Linked DNA regions of Homo sapiens: region 1 is linked to region 2. Evidence: promoter capture Hi-C in human tissues and cell types (Jung and others, 2019). All regions are on one chromosome and are shown on one strand. Each heading gives the region's core, a stretch centred on a gene start or on the middle of the fragment in contact. The rest is flanking DNA. Distances are from core to core; before and after follow the strand shown.

The links. The method cuts DNA at HindIII sites, captures the fragments that hold promoters and counts their contacts. A contact is called where the count stands out against the background at its distance.
Region 1: a contact is called between a fragment that was not itself captured here and the fragment with the promoter of QRFP in region 2, in 3 of the 25 tissues and cell types used here (H1 embryonic stem cells, IMR-90 fibroblasts and mesendoderm cells).

What each region holds. Positions count from the first base shown.
Region 1 is chr9:130,968,135-130,972,156 of GRCh38, forward strand. No RefSeq gene overlaps it. Among named protein-coding and RNA genes, the nearest start is that of FIBCD1-AS1, 30 kb to the left of the region's middle. The HindIII fragment of the contact is 5,841 bases long and covers 1-4,022 here.
Region 2 is chr9:130,893,997-130,898,061 of GRCh38, forward strand. QRFP (pyroglutamylated RFamide peptide) reads right to left here and starts at 2,816. Exons shown (of 3, transcript NM_198180.3): 1 at 2,581-2,816; 2 at 1,701-1,985. RefSeq lists enhancers at 1-148, 937-1,624, 1,625-2,311. The HindIII fragment of the contact is 19,380 bases long and covers 1-3,838 here.

The DNA.
Region 1 (4,022 bases), core at 468-2,967, 73 kb after region 2:
CTCCGCCTCCTGGGTTCAAGTGATTCTCCTGCCTCAGCTTCCTGAGTAGCTGGGATTACAGGCGTGCACCACCACGCCCAGCTAATTTTTGTATTTTTAGTAGAGACAGGGTTTCACCATGTTGGCCAGGCTTATCTCCAACTCCTGACCTCGTGATCCACCCATCTCGGCCTCCCAGAGTGCTGGAATTACAGGTGTGAGCCACTGCGCCTGGCCAAGCTTAACTTTTATATGCACTGAGAAACCAAAAATATTGTGTAACTCCCTTTATTGTGATATTTGCTTCATTGTAGTGGTCTGGAATGAAACCTGTAATATATCCAAGCTATGCCTGTATACGAATGATAATAGCTGCATTGTTCTCAATCACCAAAACATGGGAACAGCTCAGATGTCCATCAGTGGATGAACGAATAAAGAACATGTGGGTCTATCCATGCAATAGAATATTATTCAGCAATAAAAAGGAGTGAAGTATTGGCACCTACTACAACATGGAAGAACCTCAAAATCATGTTCAATGAAAGAAGCCAGACACAGGCCAGGCACGGTGGCTCACGCCTATAATCCCAGCACTTTGGGAGGCCGAGGCAGGCGAATCACGAGGTCAGGAGATCGAAACCATCCTGGCTAACACGGTGAAACCCCGTCTCTACTAAAAATACAAAAAATTAGCCGGGTGTGGTGGCGGGTGCCTGTAGTCCCAGCTACTCAGGAGGCTGAGGCAGGAGAATGGCGTGAACATGCGAGGTGGAGCTTGCCGTGAGCCGAGATCGCGCCACTGCACTCCAGCCTGGGGGACAGAGCGAGACTCCATCTCAAAACAAAACAAAAAAAAAGAGGTCAGAAGTTTGAGACCAGCCTGGCCAACATAATGAAACCCCATCTCTACTAAAAATACAAAAAATTAGCCAGGCATGGTAGCTAATGGTGGTGGCAGGTGCCTGTAATTCCAGCTACTCTGGAGGCTGAGGCAGGAGAATCGCTTGAACCTGGGAGGTGGAGGTTGCGGTGAGCCAAGATCGCACCGCTGCACTCCAGACTGGGCCACAAGAGTAAAACTCCATCTCAAAAAAAAAAAAAAAAAAAGAAGCCAGACACAAAAGGCCACATATGTATGGTCCCATTTCTATAAAATGTCAGGAATAGGCAAATCCACAGATGGAAAACAGATTAATAGTTTCCAGGGGCTGGAGGGAAAGGAGGGATGAAGCGTGACTGCTTAATTGGTTTGTGTTTGGGGTGATGAAAAAGTTCACACAGCACAACATGGTGAATGGTCTAAATGCTGCTGAACTGTGTACTTTAACATGATTAAAATGGGCCAGGCGCGGTGGCTCAGGCCTGTAATCCCAGCATTTTGGGAGGCTGAGGCGGGCGGACCACTTGAAGCCACAAGTTTGACACCAGCCTGGCCACATGGCAAAAACCTGTCTCTACTAAAAACACAAAAAAATTAGCCAGGCCTGGTGGCGCATTCCTGTAGCTCCAGCTACTCGGGAGACTGAGGCCTGAGAATCGTTTGAACCCGGGAGGCAGAGGTTGCAGTGAGCGGAGATTGTGCCACTGCACTCCAGCCTGGGTGACAGAGCAAGACTCCCTCTCAAAAAAATAAAATAGGCTGGGCGAGGTGGCTCACGCCTATAATCCCAGCACTTTCGGAGGCCGAGGTGGGTGGATCATCTGAGGCCAGGAGTTCAAGACCAGCCCGGCCAACATGGTGAAACCCCGTCTATACTAATAATACAAAAAAAAATTAGCTGGGCATGGTGGCACATGCCTGTAATCCCAGCTACTCAGGAGGCTGAGGCAGGAGAATCGCTTGAACCCAGAAGGCAGAGGTTGCAGTGAGCCAAGATCGTGACATTGCACTCCAGTCTGGGTGACAAGAGTGAAACTCTGTCTCAAAAAAAAGGCTCTTCCTCCTGGTGGGGAGGTGAGGATGGAAAGGGATCTCGTGCGTGCCTGGCCACAGTGAGCACCTAGTAACTGCTGCCTGGTGGTGGTGGGAAGAACCACCAGCCAGGTTACCGTCCAGACAGGGTCCGATCTGCCTGGGCATGGCGGGGTGGGGTGGGGCACCTCGAGGCTCCGGGCCCAGCCCTGGCCACTCGAGTTGAGGTGCCTCAGCTCAGGAAGCTCATGCATCGCAGAGGCTGTGCGTGGTTTTTGAGCTTGGAGAAGGAGGCGAGAGACCTGGCAATCTGTGCGTGGGAGAACTCAGGACAGGCCTGTGAAGAACTGTGGAGGGAACAAGAGACACCTACATTTTAACATGGTGTTCATTTTGTTTCTTTTTCTTTTTTATTTTTTTGAGACAGGCTCTTGCTCTGTTAGCCAGGCTGGAGTGCAGTGGCTCACTGTAGCCTCAGCCTCCCAGGCTCAAACAATTCTCCAACCTCAACCTGCTGAGTAACTGGGACTACAGGCATGCACTACCACGCTCAGCTAATTTTTCTATTTTTGTAGAGATAGGGTTTCTTCATGTTGCCCAGACTTGTCTTGAACTCCTGGCCTCAACTGATCCACCTGCTTTGGCCTCCCAAAGCATAATTCCCTCATGCTGGGATTACAGGCATGAACCATTGCGCTTAGCTAAAAATTTTTTATTAATAATCTACTATAGCCAGACTCCATACTGGAGACAAAGAGAATCAGAGTTCTGCCCTACAGAGAAACAGAGACACACACAGAGACAGAGACACACGGGGAGACACACACCACAGGGAGAAAGAGAGCCCGGGCCCTGCCTCCCGACTGCAGAAACAGAGACATGCAGAGACACACACTGAGACAGAGAGAGGTGGAGACACATGTTCCAAAAGGAAGGGCAAAGAGAGAGAGAGGAAGGAAGGAAGGGAGGAAGGGCAGGAAAGAGGAAGAAAGGAAGGAGGGAAGGAGGGAGGGAGGAAGAAAGGAGGAAGGGAGGGAGGAGGCAGGAGGGAGGAGGGAGGAAGGGAGGGAGGAGAGAGGAAGGAATGGAGAAGGGAAGAAGGGAGGAGGGAGGGAGTGAAAGCCTTTCTGCCACTAGTGATGGGCATTGTCCATTCTTAAGAAAGCACCTGCCTGCTTTTGACTTTAAGAGGCATAGACTTGGGTGATAGAAATGCGTGTTCAAAGCTGAAAAAGCTGAAAAGGCCTGCACCCAAATCCCATCTTTGTGAGGGGCCGTTATATGAGCCCAGCCTGTTTTCTCATCTGGAAGTGGGAATTCTCGGAGCTTAACTCACTGATGGTCATTGGGTCACAGGATGGACCTGGCGTACGGGAAGTTTCCGGAAAGGACAGCTGCAGCCTGTGTGCCCCTCATGCTCCTAAGGGGCAAGAGGACCAAGCCGAGACCCCAGTGAGCTAGGGGAGGGGCCGGCCCCACAGCAGCTTCTCCAGCTTCCTGAGGAGGCTCAGACCCTCGGGCCCTCCCAGGCCCCTCTGCCCCCGCCCCACTGGTTCACAAGCAGAGACTTCCCCTCCTCCCCTGGTTCACTGACTTTCTCATTGTCTGGGAGGCCCCAGTGTCTCCACCTCTCTCTGTCTCAGTGTGTGTCTCTGCATGTCTCTGTTTCTGTAGTCGGGAGGCAGGGCCCGGCCTCTCTTTCTCCCTGTGGTGTGTGTCTCCCTGTGTCTCTGTCTGTGTGTGTGTCTGTGTTTCTGTGTAGGGCAGGGCTCTGATTCTCTTTGTCTCCATGGTGTGTGTGTCTCTGTGTCTCTCCGTATGTCTCTGTGGTCTGTATCTCTCCATGTGTCTCTGTCTCTGTGGTCCGTGTCTGTCTGTCTGTGTGTCTCTCTCTCTATGGTCTGTGGTCTGTGTCTCTCTGTCTCTGTGGTCTGTATCTCTCCATGTCTCCCTGTCTCTGTGGTCTGTATCTGTCCATGTGTCTCTGTCTCTGTGGTCTGTGTCTCTCTGTGTGTCTCTGTCTCTGTGGTCTGTGTCTCTTTATGTGTCTCTCTCTGTGGTCTGTGTCTGTCCGTGTGTCTCTGTCTCTGTGGTCTGTGTCTCTCTGTGTGTCTCTGTCTCTGTGGTC
Region 2 (4,065 bases), core at 1,566-4,065:
TTAGCAGGATCAGGAGGTGATTGTGCCAGTTAGGCCGGTTCTTCTCCTGCAGTCCCCACGATCTGCGTGCCTGGGCAGCTTAGCACCGTAAATCCACCGCTGCTGGCTGGCAGAGCAGTGCCCAGGCGGCCCCGGGAGAGTCAGCAAATGTATGCTCATTTTTCTCTTATTATAAAATGGCCATATCATTGCAGAGCCATGGGGTGGAAAGTTAAAAGCATCAATCTCCCTTAGTGTTCAACTGGATAATAAATGGGTCTAGCTATGCTGTTTAGCTGGGACATCCTGCTAATGTCTCTTTCACGTGGGAACGAGTTGCTCCTGAAAGCCAGAAACAGATTGGATGGTCCTGGCCTAATTCGGACACCCACCTGGGAAGGAGTGTGTGGACACCACTGGGGCCTGGGCACCGTAGGTCTGCCAGGCTCTGAGCCAAGAGCTCACACATGTGATTGTACTTCATCTTCATAGTACTCCTGCTTGGTAGGTCCGGCCAGTCCCACTTTTTCAGGCAACAAAACTGTCAGAAAAACTGAGATTGTGCCCAGGCCACACAGCCAGAAAGTGGAGGCTCTGGATTCATGATTCTAATGGCCAGACGGCTTCTTCAAGAAGCATACATATCTGCTAGGTACTCCCAACCCTCCTATTTCACAGGGGTGGTGTCGGTCTCAAACAGCTGAGGTGACTTGCCCCAGATCTCATGGCCTTATCAGTGCCAGAGCTAGAGTTCAATCCCAGGTCTAACTGGGCTTGACTCAGGAAGGCGTGCCCTAACTCCCTCCTCTGTACTCCACATGGCACTCGGGGGATCTGAAACCCAGCCTCCTGTAATGAACCTGCCTTGGTAACACTTGCTCCCTTGTCTGGCAAAGAAAACCTTTTTGACAATGACCGCGGGGGAGCTGGAGCTGGCTTGTCCTCCGCAGAGTCAAACTGAGGCTAGACTAGAGAGCACCGGCCCTGGAGAAGACAGTACAGGAGTCCCCAGAGCCCTTTCCAGAAATGGCTCCCTCGAACACATTTCAAAGAAGCGAGCTCAGCCAGGAAGCTTTTAAAAAAATAATACATGCAACCCCACTTTCTACCCAAATCCAGTTCTTCTAAGCTTTCGTCCCCCAGGGATGGAGTGACCTCCCTCATGCTGCCAGGAAAACCTTTCCATCAGGGCGCAGGCAGAGTGGGGGCTTCCACGAGGTGACTTTCTGCAGCGGCCCAGCCCATTCCCTCCTCCCCATAGGAAGCACTTTGCTGACTGCGATGTGGACCAGGGACCGTTGCATCCTGGTGGATAAATCCACCCGGGAGTGGCCTCTGGGTGTCTAGAAAGGAGACAGCCTGACAGAGCAGGCCCTGGAGTGGCCCTTCACCCCTTTTAGGGGTTCATGCACCCCTTCAAGAATCTGGTAGAAAGTGGGGATGCTCATCACGGGACAGGCGGCCCCAGCGCGAGTCAGGGCTTCAGGCCCCACAGCCAGGAAGGGACAGGAAAAGCACGGGTGAGGCTGGGTCCCAGCCCTGGCAGGGCAGCCGTGACCAATCTGTGCTGCTCTGGGCTGTTGGCAGGGGAGGCACTGGTGTCCCCTCTCCGGGCACTCCCTCCCTGTGCTTCTGTGTGCCCTCTGACTGCCCATGCCTGGCTCCTGCCTGGGCAGGGCCTGAGCTGGGGTTCCTGCTGGGGACAGGGCAGCTATGCTCACCGTGTGGCTGGGACTGCTCCCAGGAAGGCTGGCTGGTGGATCGCTGGGCTCCGGGGCTGGGCTGGGCAGAGCTGCTCTGGGTCCTCGTCCAGGAGGCATGGCCCCTGGGCTCTCCCTGCTTTATATGGCCCGCGGTGCGCTTGCTGCTCTGCCGACTGCCTGCTGCGCATTCCTGACCCTGGGATTCCATTGGGGACGCTGTTGTTGAAGAGGGGCAGTGCTGACCGCGTTGATAAAAACAACCTCACACAGGATGTAGTCTGATGAGAGGGCAGGCGGGCTGCCCTTTGGAGGAGAGCAGACAGCATCATTAACTGCAAATTGCGGGCACAGACCCTCGAGTCCCTTGGCGGGGGTTCCAAGCCCACCCTTCACCCTAAGGGTCCTGCCTTTGCTGGGTTGGCACCTCACGCTCCGGAGAGGACATGGGGTGGGTGGACATCTACCCGACACACCTACTGCCCAGCTTGCAGGATGGCTTTCATGGGCAGGAAAGCCACAGACACCCATGAGGCCCGTGTTTCACAGGCACCGGGCTGCGCGGCTAAGCCAGGTGCACCTCCCCGGCAGGTGGAGCCCTCAGCGGCCTGTTACCCAGGAACCAACCAAGGGGGCACGGCAGATGCCCAGGACAGCAGTGGAGCATTTGCCTGTGGCCCCCAGCCCCTCCCACCGCATACCCTGGGTGGCCCCCTACTGTCACCGAGGGTCACCTCTGGGAGGCCAGCAGGAGGACCCAGCCTCTGCTCCTTGCCCGGCAGAGATTCTCCCTCCACTGAGAGCAGGCAGGGGGGTGATGAGGCAGCCCCACCCCACCACTGTCAGGAACTGAGCACAGAGGGCCTCCCCCATTCCAGGGGCCCTCACCCAGCCGACCTACCCCTGCATCCCGGCTGCTGGGGGATCAGAAGTCATGGGAATAGAGAGCCTGTGGACACTTCCCCAGAGACCTGAGGAAGGCACTGGAATCTCGATCCTCCACTTCGGGGCTGAGCGCCCAGGTTCGGGCGGAGGGTCTGCGGATTGAAGCCGATGACTGAGCTTTGCTGGCCAGAACCAGCTTCCATCCCCCAGGCCAGGGCTGCCTCCGATGGCCTGAGGTGCCCCTGTCCTGTGTGTGCATGTGTGTGTATGCCCCCACATGAGTATGTGCACACGTGCGTACACGTGTGTGTGCTCGTGAGACGGGAGGTGTGGTGTCCTTCTGTCTCCCTGGTTAGTGCTGGTTGATTCTGACAGCGGGCACCAGTTATCCATGGGGTGCCGCCCAGGGTGGGTCTCTACCGTGCTATGAGCCTGGACCGGATGCCTGCCCTCTGGGTGCCTCAGTGCTCCCTTGGTGTAAAGCGAGGTTCAAGTTCCCAAGCTGTGCTTTGCAGAATTCCTCAGGAATGGCCATGGAAGTTGGGGAAGGCAACATGGGGTCCAATCCCGCAGGCACCCCTCTCCTACAGGCACCCCACTCCCCTACAGGCTACCCCTCTGCCCTACAGGCACCCCTTTGCCCCACACGCACCCCTCTGCCCCACAGACACTCCTCTGCCCTACAGGCACCTCTCTGCCCCGCAGGCACCCCTGTGACCCACATGCACCCCTGTGCCCCGCAGGCACCCCTGTGCCCCGCACGCACCCCTGTGCCCTGCATGCACCCCTGTGCCCCGCACACACCCCTGTGCCCTGCACGCGCCCCTGTGCCCCTCAGGCCAAGCCCCACTTTGCTGTGTTTGACATGTTGAGCTCCCAGAAAAGGTTCTGCTTTGAAACCACCAGGGCCCGGAGTCCTTTTGCGGGACTGAGGTCTGTGGCTCTGAGAGGTGGTCACAGAATGTCCTGCATGTGAGGGGCTGGTCTGGGGTGGGAGCAATATTGGGGTGAGGATGAGGGGTCCCCACGTGGCCCACATGTTCCCCAGCCTCAGGTCCCCGCCTGCCCCCTTCAGACCGGGGTGCCTGGAGCCCAGTCAGGCGTTGGATTTGGTGCCAAACCTTCTGACTCCAGGGACTTGCCTGGTCCCCTCCACCCCTGGAACTCCTGGACGGAAAAATTGCTTTCAGATGCCCTTCCTGGGCCCCTGGAAGCATCTGGGTTCCCCCACCTCTTGAGCAATTGGGGGTGACAACTGTGCCACTGTTTGCCACCAGCAGCCGAGATAGGCAGGGTCTGGGCTGCCTGGATGCACAGGGTGGCCGGGGCTAGATCAGTCCAAGAGTGGCAGTACCCATCGGGGCGGCTTCCAGCGCTGGAGGCTTTTTCTGCTGTCGGGTAAATGCAGGGAGGCGAGGCGTGAGGGTGGTGGGGCTGGTGGTGCAGGAAGCCGCTCTGGGGGTGGAGTCCGTGGACCACCTCGAAGCCTGTGGGGTTCCCT